Regions from separate parts of the Homo sapiens genome. Here regions 1 and 2 are each linked to region 3. Evidence: promoter capture Hi-C in 16 types of primary human blood cells and fetal thymus (Javierre and others, 2016). All regions are on one chromosome and are shown on one strand. Each heading gives the region's core, a stretch centred on a gene start or on the middle of the fragment in contact. The rest is flanking DNA. Distances are from core to core; before and after follow the strand shown.

Region 1 (4,057 bases), core at 398-2,897, 520 kb before region 3:
AGCTGCACTGGGGGCTGAAGAAGCTGCCAATCTCAGCTCCCTGGGCCACTGGAAAGCATCGTTTCCCTAGTAGAATGTCACCAGTGAGGGAGGAAGGGAAAACATACAGCTTCCAATACCCAAGGCACTGAAGAGCTGGCAGAGCCTCAAGGGGAGCCTCACCATTGTCAACCCAGGGGCAACCCACCAATCAGGTACAAATATTGATTATGTACTGTGAGCTTGAGTAGGTATAGAATATGTGCTGTGAGCTTGGTGCTCTGGGAGGGCTTTGATGGGGGATGTGGGACTGGAGGACATTACACTTGGCACTTACACTCGATGAGACGAATTACATGAAACCATAAGCCACACAATATAAATTGGGTGAAATTGTGTGGCGCAGATTTTAAAAATACTATACTAGAAATTTGGCTGCCAAAGTCAAGCAGCCGCTTTATAAAAGAGGTGGAACTGAAGCTTGGTCTTGACGGAACTAGTAAAACTTAGAGAGGGGAGATCCCTCCTCGGAAAAGAGGGGAGGGGAAGATTGCACCTCACGCATTTGAGGCACAGCAGGAAGCCTGAACCTGAACTGAATGTAGTTGAGGATGTGTGTTGTGGATTGGAAGAAATAAGGCTGGGATTCAGGGAGGGGGGAAAAAGGAATCTTTAAATTCTATAGAGAGCTGGGTGGCCCAAATGCTCTGTGGGGAATGGAGCACCTGCTGTGCTGAGATTCCAGCCCTTCAGCCTATTCAGAGAACTGGCTCTGGGCAGGGCGGGTCCATCCTGGGCTGGTGCTGTACCACTGTCCCGTAAACTCTACCCAAACCTGCACTCAAGGAAAGGGGTGCAATGCTCTTTCCCACCTGAACCTAGTTCTTGCTGGGCAAGGAGCACGTCTCCCCAGTGCCCACCAGCCCCAGGTACCGCTCCCCCCACCCCCCGCAAAACACACACGAAGCCCTGGGAAGAGCAGAGTACCAGGAGCTTTTCCAGGGTGGGCATCCCCCGTGCTCTCTGCAGTGGATTATTACACGTTATCTCCCACCCGCTGTACAGAGAAGTCTGGAGCAGAGGCTGAGCAGCTTGTCTGGGAGCGGGAAATGTGTGTGGTCTCCCCTCACACCCCACCCCCACCCCTACTTCTACCAGTTTTCCCCCCTGGATTCAACTTTCTTTGAGTCTCCAGGAATACCCCTGCTGTGTTCCAGCACCCTTTTATCTTTTATCTTTTTCTCTTTTTTTGTAAATTATTTAAAGTTTTTCTTAAACTTTAATGACCTGGGAAATGAAGCCCCGAAATGAACCCTGCTGCGGTGGTGGCACCAAATCCTAAACCCTAGATCATCAGGGTCCAGCATCCTCTTAGACTTGACCGCTGGCCACTGACCTCCCCTACAGTACCTCACGCCCCTTTCCTGCCATCTCTGCCCCTCCAGAACTCGATCCGCCACAACCTGTCCCTGCACAGCAAGTTCATCAAGGTTCACAACGAGGCCACCGGCAAAAGCTCTTGGTGGATGCTGAACCCTGAGGGAGGCAAGAGCGGCAAAGCCCCCCGCCGCCGGGCCGCCTCCATGGATAGCAGCAGCAAGCTGCTCCGGGGCCGCAGTAAAGCCCCCAAGAAGAAACCATCTGTGCTGCCAGCTCCACCCGAAGGTGCCACTCCAACGAGCCCTGTCGGCCACTTTGCCAAGTGGTCAGGCAGCCCTTGCTCTCGAAACCGTGAAGAAGCCGATATGTGGACCACCTTCCGTCCACGAAGCAGTTCAAATGCCAGCAGTGTCAGCACCCGGCTGTCCCCCTTGAGGCCAGAGTCTGAGGTGCTGGCGGAGGAAATACCAGCTTCAGTCAGCAGTTATGCAGGGGGTGTCCCTCCCACCCTCAATGAAGGTCTAGAGCTGTTAGATGGGCTCAATCTCACCTCTTCCCATTCCCTGCTATCTCGGAGTGGTCTCTCTGGCTTCTCTTTGCAGCATCCTGGGGTTACCGGCCCCTTACACACCTACAGCAGCTCCCTTTTCAGCCCAGCAGAGGGGCCCCTGTCAGCAGGAGAAGGGTGCTTCTCCAGCTCCCAGGCTCTGGAGGCCCTGCTCACCTCTGATACGCCACCACCCCCTGCTGACGTCCTCATGACCCAGGTAGATCCCATTCTGTCCCAGGCTCCGACTCTTCTGTTGCTGGGGGGGCTTCCTTCCTCCAGTAAGCTGGCCACGGGCGTCGGCCTGTGTCCCAAGCCCCTAGAGGCTCCAGGCCCCAGCAGTCTGGTTCCCACCCTTTCTATGATAGCACCACCTCCAGTCATGGCAAGTGCCCCCATCCCCAAGGCTCTGGGGACTCCTGTGCTCACACCCCCTACTGAAGCTGCAAGCCAAGACAGAATGCCTCAGGATCTAGATCTTGATATGTATATGGAGAACCTGGAGTGTGACATGGATAACATCATCAGTGACCTCATGGATGAGGGCGAGGGACTGGACTTCAACTTTGAGCCAGGTACAGTACCCCCTAATCACCACAGCACCTCATAGCCTATTACCACTCCTAGGTGCCCAGCTAGTCCCATGATCTGGGCGAAGGGGAGATTTAGGACAAGTGGTAGCCAGAGCTCCTGGGGAACTGGAGGGAAGATGTCATATTACAGTAGCATAGTTTCCGGATGGGACCTCCAGGCCCCTTAGCTGTGCCCAGCCCTGCAAGGTAGCACAGAAAAGGTATGTGTATGGAAGCGGGTTAGGTGCCACCATCTTCTTTGGTGGGAATCTGGATGATAGAATGTTGGCAAGCCCCAGGTAAGCCTCTTACCTTGTTCTCTGTTTCTTCTTCCCACAGATCCCTGAGTCATGCCTGGAAGCTTTGTCCCCTGCTTCAGATGTGGAGCCAGGCGTGTTCATATCTACTCTTTACCCTTGAGCCCTCCCCAGGAATTTGGGACCCTGCTTTAGAGCTAGGGTGGGGTCTGGTCACACACAGGTGTTGAAGAAATTATAAAGATAAAGCTGCCCCATCTGGGGACGATATGGGGAGGGAGATGGGAGGGGAAAGGGGAGAGGGTTTTTCTCACTGTGCCAATTAGGGGGTAAGGCCCCCTCTCAGGAGCCATCATCGGCTTTCCCCATTCCTACCCACTTAGGCTTTGTAGCAAGATGAGCAATGCTGTTGGAAATGTGAAGTCACCAGTGGCCTTACCCCTGCCTTTGGGAGCAGGATTTTTTTGTAGAGAGTCTTATCTGAGCTGAGCCAGGCTAGCTGGAGCCTGGGATTTCTATGCAGTGGCCCCTTAGGCCAGTGATGTGCGGTGGGTGGGCTGTTTAGGGGATCTGGAAGGGCCAAGGTCTGAGCACTGGAGTGGCTCGCCAGGCCAAATCACCCTTAGAAGGCTGCAGATAACAGAAAGGCTTTTTATAAACTTTTAAAGAAATATAAACACAAATATAGAGATTTTTTAACCATGGCAGGGTGCTAGTGGTGGGCAGAATGCTTTTTTTTCTTTCTGAAGGCTTTGTGATAGTGACATGATACAAACACTACAGACAATAAATATTAGGAGACACAGGGAAGTGGGGAGAGGTGGGGAGTAATAGTAAACACAGGGAAGAGCTCCCCTACGGACCAGGTATAGAGAAAGGTCTATGCAGAAATAGGTTAGAGTTTCCCTAACAAAAAAGCTAACCCAGGTCCCCTCATTCCTTCAACTTGTGCCTGGGAGTGTGTGGTGTTAGGGTGCAGCCACACTCTTCTATGACCCAGCATGGGTTAGTGCTATGGTGGGAGAGTACATTGAAGGCCTGGAATTAGCTTGGGGCCAGGGAAGGGACTGGGAGGGGAGAGAAGAGAAGGAGGGAAGGATTTAGGATGGTAAAGTTAGGTACAGAGACCTCCCTGTTCAAGGCCCCTGACAGCTGTCCCTGCCCTTCTTCCCCTTCCCTGACTGCAGGGGTTATGTGGAAGTGTGTGTGGCAGCAGGCAGCGGGGAGGGGAGGAACAGGGAAGGGGGAGCTGGGGAGCTTGGCTGAGGGTCTGGGAAATGAGCAGGGATGGGGGGGGATGTGGATCAGGTTTACTAGCACCT
Region 2 (4,135 bases), core at 43-2,542, 560 kb before region 3:
CTGGGCTCAAGCAATCCTCCTGCCTCAGCCTCCCAAAATGCTGGGATTACAGGCATGAGCCAACCACATTCAGCCTTAATTTGCTAATGTTTTGAACACATCACTTTCTGTACCTTCTTTCCATGTTGAGCTACATCAAAACTAGCTTTGATTTTCTAAATGACAAGACTGCTACCTCCCCTCATTCCAACCCTTGCCAAAACCCACTCTGTGTAGGGAAACCATTTCAGAGCTCACTGGTCAGATGAATATCCACCCACCAAAAGTTCTGAGAGTTCACCCACCTTTCTGCCTGTGTCAAATTTATTTGGGAAAAAAAACAGTGTCAGTTGAGATAAAAAGCCTATAGAAGAAATGTTTGTTGGTGTTGTGTGGGTGTGTCAGAGGATGAACACATGCATGTGTGTTTATGTACATGTATTACATATGCAGACACACACATACACACATACACACACACATATATAATAAATATATTCTGCCCAAATTAGCACAAACCCACAAGCTTAAAAACCAAATCTGCTAAATCTGACTCAAACAACAGGTACTGAGCCTACAGCTACTTCCTGCAAGCAGATGCATTACCTCTGTGACAAAGTCAGTTGTGAGTTGCAAAAAGGATAGGTAAATATCATTAAGATAAGTTAAGATTCTGCTTTCTAAAAAAATTTAAATGCAAAACATTACCTCAGGACACTGGCCACACTGTATGATTTCTGCATAATACCCAGCATATCCTAGACACTAAAGAATACTAAATTTACAACTTAAGCAGGAAAACAGAGGCTTGCTTCACAGTGGTTTAATATGAACAGAGTTGAATATGACATTGTCTGACAGAAGAATGAACAGTTTGCTGAATAAAAGCCCCGAGTCAGGATATATATACACAGCAGAAATGGGGCCTCAGACTCTCAGCACTTGTGCACAATGAAAGAGGAAATCGTTTTTAAAAAATGTCTATAACAGAGGATACAAATCAAAAAGGCAGCAACAACAACATTGGCGAGGTGGGAAAGGGAGCAGAGCCTCTCATTAGGGGCTGCTTAGCCCCTGGCGCAGGCTCAGCAGCTGGAGAGCTGTCTCAGGGAACTTCAACATTTAGATGGGTTCCAAATCCTATGTCAAAATACAATCCTAATCTCTCTGATCAGGGTCAGTCAGAATCAGCAATCCTTTTCCACAGTGCCCTGCATAGAAAACTCCAATCTTTCCATGATAGGGAGTCTAAGCAAAGAGCCCCCACCTCTCACCTGGCACCAAAGTTAACTTACTCTCACCCCACCACTTGGGACAGACGTTGGGCCCCAGCAAACAAACCACCCCCTCCAAGACAGAAACCAGGATAGTTGCCAGCCTCAAGAAGCTGCTTCAAATGTTAAGATTTAGGAAATCCATACCAAGCTGCTATCCATAGTTCAACTTCTGGGGAAAATGCTGGAGTTGCATGAGAAACAAGTGCAGGCAGTTCAATAACCCTGTGACCACGCTGGGGAGGGCAGCAAAAACTCTTGCCCCTGAGCCCCATTCAACAACTCAAAGTGCTTAGGAGAAGTCAGAGACTGTGTGGTTGGTTTGTGTGCTTCTGCCCTGTGGCAGCACTAAATGGGATGGGGGAAAGGAGAATGGAAGGAAGACAGTGTTGATGCCCTTCCCTACCGCGGGTAAGAGCCTAGAAGATAATCCACTCCCACCCTTCAGGGAGTTACCTGGCAGTGGTGAGTTGCCCCCACCCCTCAAGCCACCAAACCTGCAAAGCTAACCCATAAAGTAGCAAGGGCTTAGGGAGGGAGAACTGCTGGCCCATACTGACTCACCAGCTGATGAGCAAAAATAGGCAGCTAGAGTGGGAGCCACAAAGGGAGAGGGGCTAGGCAATAGGAGCTCCCCTACTGCCCTATGGCTTTCTTCTGACTCTGAAGCAGCCATAATGATGGGCCCAGAAAACCCACACACCCTGCTCCATACAACAGACTGCTTGGACTCTAGGAGGATTACTGCCATGGAAAGCAACAAGGGAGAGAGAAAGCAACAAAAGAAACTGTTAAGAAAACTGGGAGCAGGCCTGAAGAAAACAAGGAAAGCTTCTGAGTCTCTACCACCTTTCCAAAAAGGAAAAAATACATGCAGTTAGGAAAGGCAGGGTTTTTCCCTGCTCAGTGTTCTTGGTTAAACCTAAGAGTAAGAAAAATCCCCTGAACTTGCAGCATCAGTATGTATCCAAGTGCCTCACCAGCACAAGCGCCCCCCTCCCCCCAGGTTAGCCTTCTGGCATGGGTAAATGCCCAAGAAATTGCCTTCCAGTCTAATCCCCCCACCCACCCACCCCAACCCCAAGCAAAGGGCATCTGCCTGTGGGTTCCCACCTCTCCTCAGAGAAGAGGATCCTAGCAGAGTGCCCACATGGTGTAGTCAGGTACCAGGGAGCACAATGCCAGACAGTCTATCAGGCCAGGAGATGGGCAGCCAACTTCAGATCAAAGACAGAGAGAGGCTTAGTGTAAAAACCAATGTCATTTCAGCAGGAAAGTAGAGGGCAGGTGGTGAGAGGGGCTCCTACTGGCGCACCTTCCCCGGGACGTAGTTCCTGTCAATTGCCTCCTCTTGCAGGAACATGTGTAGGCAGCGTTCATTCTGAGCCAGTGGGTGCCCAGCAATTCTATAAAGAAACCAGGATGGTTATCAGTAGTATTCAGAATCAGAGAGAATTAGCAGAGGGATGGGGATGTGGACAGGGGAAGAAGGGCAAGGTCAGCCCTGAGGTTCAAGCCAGTAGAGGACAGCAGTAGGGTACCACCTCAACCCTAATATTGTAAAGGGGACGGGGGATAGAGGGGCAAGACAGGGAAATCCCTAGATATAACCAACATGCAGTGCTTTCTCAGGCCCTGACACACAGGATCAGAATCCTACTCAAAGGAATGGAGTTTTACTGTCCAGTCAGCCCACCACACAATTGGCACCACATCATGGTACCCATTATAAAAGGTGAGCTGGGTGCGGTGGCTCACGCCTGTAATCCCAACACTTTGGGAGGCCAAGGCAGGTGGATCACTTAAGGTCAGGAGTTCGAGACCAGTCTGGCCAACATGGTGAAACCCCATCGCTACTAAAAACATGAAAATTAGCTGGGCATGGTGGCCGGCGCCTGTAATCCCTGTTACTCAGGAGGCTGAGGCAGGAGAATCACTTGAACCCAGGAGACGGAGGTTGCAGTGAGCCGAGATCACACCATTGCACTCCAGCCTAGGTGACAGAGTGAGACTCTGTCTCAAATAAATAAATAAGTAAATAAAAATAAAATAAAAGGTGAGGTAAACAAAACATATAGAAAGACTACGATGGCAAAAGTAGCAAGTGGAGCCCCCAGGAACTTGGCTTACTTGTTAATAAACTGCTCGAGGCCCTGCCTCCTTTCTTCGATGAAAGACTCCTCAAAGATCCCTTCATCTCCTCGGAAAGGGAGCTGCCGCTTCAAGGCTTTCCCAGGCAGTGGTGGTACTACAATCTGCAGGCACACACAAAATTCCAGCCACATGGGAGAGAGACAGAGTGGGAATGAGATGGTAAAGCACCGTGTACCTCATTTCTTATTAGGCATAGGGTCCATCCTGTCCCACAGCCAGCAACTTGCAAGAACTAAGACCATAAGAACAGTCAGGATGGCTCAGGTCAAAAATTAATCCGTTTCTGTGGGAAGACAGGTTTACCACCTCAAAAGAAGGAAATAAACTCCAAATAATCCTCACTTTCCTTAACAAGCCACTACCATTCAAGAATTTAGCTAGGATTTTCCTGACACTAGACTTTCCATTTTTAGCACCTACAGGAATTAAGTTGTACAACTTTACTAGCGACTAAGTGAAGTAATACTTTAAAAAAAAAACTTGTCCTGAACTTACCACTTTCTTTTTTTTTTTTTTTTTTTTTTGAGACAGAGTCTTGCTCTGTCATCCAGGCTGGAGTGCAGTGGCACGATCTCAGCTAACTGCAACCTCTGCCTCCCAGGTTCAAGCAATTCCCATGCCTCAGCCTCCCAAGTAGCTGGGATTACAGGCATCCACCACCACACCTGGCTGATTCTTGTATTTTTAGTACAGGCGGGGTTTCACCATGTTGGCCAGGCTGGTCTTGA
Region 3 (4,045 bases), core at 258-2,757:
GGCATGAACTATGTTCAGGTAGCGGTCAAAGCTGATGCAGGCCAGCAGGAGGGCTCCTGCGTAGAAGTTGATGTTGAAGAGGGCACCTGCCACTTTGCAGAGGCCAGAGCCAAAGACCCACTGGACGGCAGCGTCCACTGCCCAGAGCGGCAGTGTCAGCACCAGCAGCGTGTCTGCTACAGCTAGGTGGAGCAGGAAGGTGTCGGTGCTGCTCAGGGCTGTCCGCCGGCTCAGCAGCACGGCTGCCACCGCGCCGTTGCCCAGCAGCCCCAGCAGAAAGAGGAGGCTGTAGAGGGCTGGCAGGAAGGCCCGGTCGAAGTTCAGGCTGAAGTCCTGTGGGCAGGGCGGGGAGGTACAGCACGAGTCACTCTCGTTTTCTCCATAGTCATAGGAAGAGCTGAAGTTCTCCAGGAGGGCGGCAACCTCGGCGTCATTTAGCACTTGGTGGTCACTCACCTGTGAGGGCGGGAACGGGGAGGAAGGGGCTGTGTAAAGGCCTGGCAGGAACTCTTTTGTGATTGAGTCTGATTTAGTCTGTGATTTACTCTGAGCAGCTCCTCCTATAACTGTCCCCGCCAGTCTTCCAGGGCCGTACTTCCTCAACTCCATCCGCTCAGCCTGGGCTCTGGGATAGTGACTTCCCTTCTCAAAGGCTGCTTCTCTCGCATTCTTCTGCGTGATCCCATCGGCCCAGGGACCCCTGGGCAGGAAGAAGAGCGTCCCTCCAGTGCCCAGAGCCCTCTCTGCCCACTGTCCTCTCTCTCCCTGCTCTCCCTTCAGGCTTGCCTTGCGTCCTCAGTGCCCCACCCCCAACACATAGTTCAACCACCTTCCTCCCCAGCGCCTCTCCACAATCCCCTTTTCCAGTCACTAACCCTCCTCTTCCCTCCTTGGCCCTTGTCCGGGGACCCCAACTTCCTGCGCCCCCCCCCACCGTGTGGCCTCTCTACAAGTCACCACGCCCCCCAAATGCATGCAGTCTGCCCAGTCCTTCCCCCTCCCTACACTGAGGCTTGCACGGCCATTTAGCTGCCCACAAGGGGATCCCCCACTTAGCTTGAGAAGGAATCTTCTTTATCCCCTCACCCCCAGCACTATGGACCTGCAGGTCTCCCCAGTACCAATTTAGTCCAGCACGCCAAGAGTCAAAGTTCCAAGTCTCCTGAAGGGAGCCTTCGAGTCTACTTGCCCCCCGCCCCCCCCATTTTGCAGACGAGACACCGAAGCCAGAGAGGAGAGGAGAGGCACCCAGGGTCAGTGGCCAAGCTGGGTTCCCAATTCCCCAGTGCTGTTTCTGCCACAACCCATGCGGCCTCCAGCTACTCACCCAACCCTGTGGTGACCCTGGGCTGTGGGCCAGCCCTGGCATTCCCCTGATGCCCCGGGTTTTCCACTTCGAATTCTGGCCTGGCCTGGCTGGGCAGCAGCACTTACCTCAAGGACCATGGCTGGGCTGGTGCTCTGGCTGCTGGGTGGTGTGCTGCCTGCCCCTCTGCTTTGGTGCTTGTGGTTGGAAACCTGCAGTCACAGAGGAAGTGGGAGTTTCAGGCAGTTCTCAGCAGCAGCCTCTTCCAGGGAGTTACCTCTACCAGACCTCCCTAAACCTCAGGCCACAGAGTTTCCGTGACTGGGTGAAACCTCTCTGGAGGAGCTGGCTACAAGCTTGGGACCAGAAAAGCTGGGCAGAGGATGACTGGCTGGGGGCAGGTCCTTTGAGAAGAGAGGTCTGAAGAGGAAGCAATGCAGCTGAGAAGTGAAGGGCAACCCTACTGCCTGCACTGGTAGGGTCAGTGCTCCATAGATTGGAACTCATCTGTCCTGGCCTTGAGTTGATCTTTGCATGATTGTAAAGGCTGGGTAGAGAAATAAGTCTGCAGAGGAGATCCACCTTCTTAAAAATTTCAGCTAGGTGCAGTGGCTCATTCCTGTAATCCCAGCTACTGGGGAGGCTGAGGCAAGAGGATCACTTAAGGCCAAGAGTTTGAGACCAGCCTGGGCAGCATAGCGAGGCTCCATCTCTACCAAAAATAAAAAAAGCCAGCCGGGCATGGTGGCATGTGCCTGTAGTCCTAACTACTTGGAAGCCTGAGACAGGAGGATTGCTTGAGCCCGGGAGTTCAAGTCTGCCTTGAGATATAATTGTACCACTGCACTCCAGCCTGGTGACAGAGTGAGGCCCTGTCTCTTAAAAAGGGAATTAAAATATTTTTTTAAAAAGCCGTTACACTAAATCTAGCTTTTTACCACCACCTCTCCCTGCTAATCAGTGGGGAAAAAGAAAGGGAACTACCAGTAATGAACTTGCTATGTGATAGACATTGCTTTAGGTGCTTTCTCCGACACTGCCTTATTTCAACCACACAACTCACTTGTGACGTGCGGGGTTATCTGCATGGATGATTCAGAAAGGGGACAGGCCTTCGCCAGACACGGCAATTAAAGGTGGGCGTGAGGATTGATCCCACGGCTGTCTGATTCTCCTTTTCCTACTCATGAACACTGTCTTCAGTTTCTTTTAAGTGAATAAGCTATGATATATTCATGCAGTTAAAAACAAATGAACTAAAGCTACACATTTGAACATGGATGCATCTAGAAAAGCCAACGATCACATGGTAGAAGAAGCAAGTTACAGAATGCCATGTATAGTTTGATGCCACTTACATAAACTCTAAAAACCACCACAAAATCAATACCATGTTGTTTTGGATAACACTGTTGGTTCTCGAGGTTTAAAACAGGGACAGGAGATACCACAAATTCATAAAAGCAGTTGCTTCTCGGGCAAGAAGGAGGATGGGGTTGGGGAGGAGGCCATAGGAACTTCTTGATCTTAAGGAAAAGCTGTAAGGCAGCCTTGGTACAGCACATCAGTCACTTTATGGCAGAGAATGGTGAACAATTCCTCTCCCCACCTGCCCTCAGCTCTCCCCTTTGCCCTCTTCTCCCCTCCCTGTCGCCCTCTTCTCATTACCAGTGGGCAAGGCTGCCCGTAATTTGCTTCTCCCAAGCAGTTTCCTCTTTCTCTCTCTCCCCTAGTTGGAAAGCAGGGGTGGAGGGAGAGAGAGAAAGAAGAGAGAAGAGAGAAGAGAGAGAGAGAGAAAAGCAAGTGCTAGCCCATGGTCTTGGGGCCAGTTTTCAGCCAGACTGCCCCACCAAAGCCTCCAGGCTAGGGCCTGGAATTAAATTTACACCCACATGAGGCATACTTGCAAGGCATCAAGGCCCTTCCCCTCCTGTGGACAGATGTGACTCTCCTTGCTCTAAACAGCTTGTCACCTGCAGGGTTCAGGCCAGAGGGAACTGAGGGCCTGGCAGAGGTCAGGAGCAGTGCCAGTGGAGGGAGCAGGAAGGATTCCAGAAACCAGGCCAGTTAGGATGAGCAGGACTTGGCCAGTAGCTACCTATGGGGGTGGAAAAGGGTTGGGAGCTGGGACCACAGTCTCCCAGTGCTGACCTGTGAAGAGGTTTGAGTTCCATGGGCTTCTGCAAATGAGAAAATTGACCATGGAAAGCCACATTTGTTCCATTTAAAGGTCTGTCTTATATTCAGCAATCATGTTATTTGTCCCCTTTTTTTGGTATCAAAAGGGCCTTTTCTTTATGAAATGATGGGGAAAATAGATGGTAGTTTTGGAAACATCTTGTGATGGCAGAAGTTGACAACCCAATGTGGGTCCTCTAAATCAGCAGTCCCCAGCCTTTTTGGCACCAGGGACCGGTTTCGTGGAAGACAATTTTTCCACGGACTGGAGTGGGGATGGTTTCGGGATGAAACTGTTCCACCTCAGATCATCAGGCATTAGATTCTCATAAACAATGCACAACCTAGATCCCTCCCACGTGCAGTTCACAACAGGATTTGTGCTCTGCTGATCTGACAGGAGGCAGAGCTCAGGCAGTAATGCTCCCTCCCCCTGCAGCTTACCTCCTGCTGTCCAGCCTGGTTCCTAACAGGCCACAGACCGGTATACTGGTCCACCACCCATGGGCTGGGGAGCCCTGCTCTAAATAGATGTTGAAATGTTACTGGTCCATGTGAAAG

What was found. Contacts are between HindIII fragments. The CHiCAGO score rates a contact against its expected background, and 5 or more counts as called.
Region 1: a contact is called between a fragment that was not itself captured here and the fragment with the promoter of CXCR3 in region 3, in 1 of 17 cell types (naive CD8 T cells). The highest score is 7.3, in naive CD8 T cells.
Region 2: a fragment that was not itself captured here is called in contact with the fragment with the promoter of CXCR3 in region 3 in 1 of 17 cell types (naive B cells); the score reaches 5.9 in naive B cells.

Annotation. Positions count from the first base shown.
Region 1 is chrX:71,099,260-71,103,316 of GRCh38, forward strand. It overlaps FOXO4 (forkhead box O4), which reads left to right. Exons shown (of 3, transcript NM_005938.4): 2 at 1,425-2,481; 3 at 2,818-4,057. The coding sequence ends at 2,825. Among named protein-coding and RNA genes, the nearest start is that of FOXO4, 5.4 kb to the left of the region's middle. RefSeq lists enhancers at 1,163-1,773, 2,060-2,109. The HindIII fragment of the contact is 2,380 bases long and covers 458-2,837 here.
Region 2 is chrX:71,058,460-71,062,594 of GRCh38, forward strand. SNX12 (sorting nexin 12) reads right to left here. Exons shown (of 4, transcript NM_013346.4): 3 at 3,384-3,508; 4 at 788-2,659. The coding sequence ends at 2,557. Among named protein-coding and RNA genes, the nearest start is that of SNX12, 7.8 kb to the right of the region's middle. The HindIII fragment of the contact is 1,579 bases long and covers 504-2,082 here.
Region 3 is chrX:71,617,004-71,621,048 of GRCh38, forward strand. CXCR3 (C-X-C motif chemokine receptor 3) reads right to left here and starts at 1,508. Exons shown (of 2, transcript NM_001504.2): 1 at 1,435-1,508; 2 at 1-456. The coding sequence starts at 1,446. The HindIII fragment of the contact is 3,713 bases long and covers 1-1,660 here.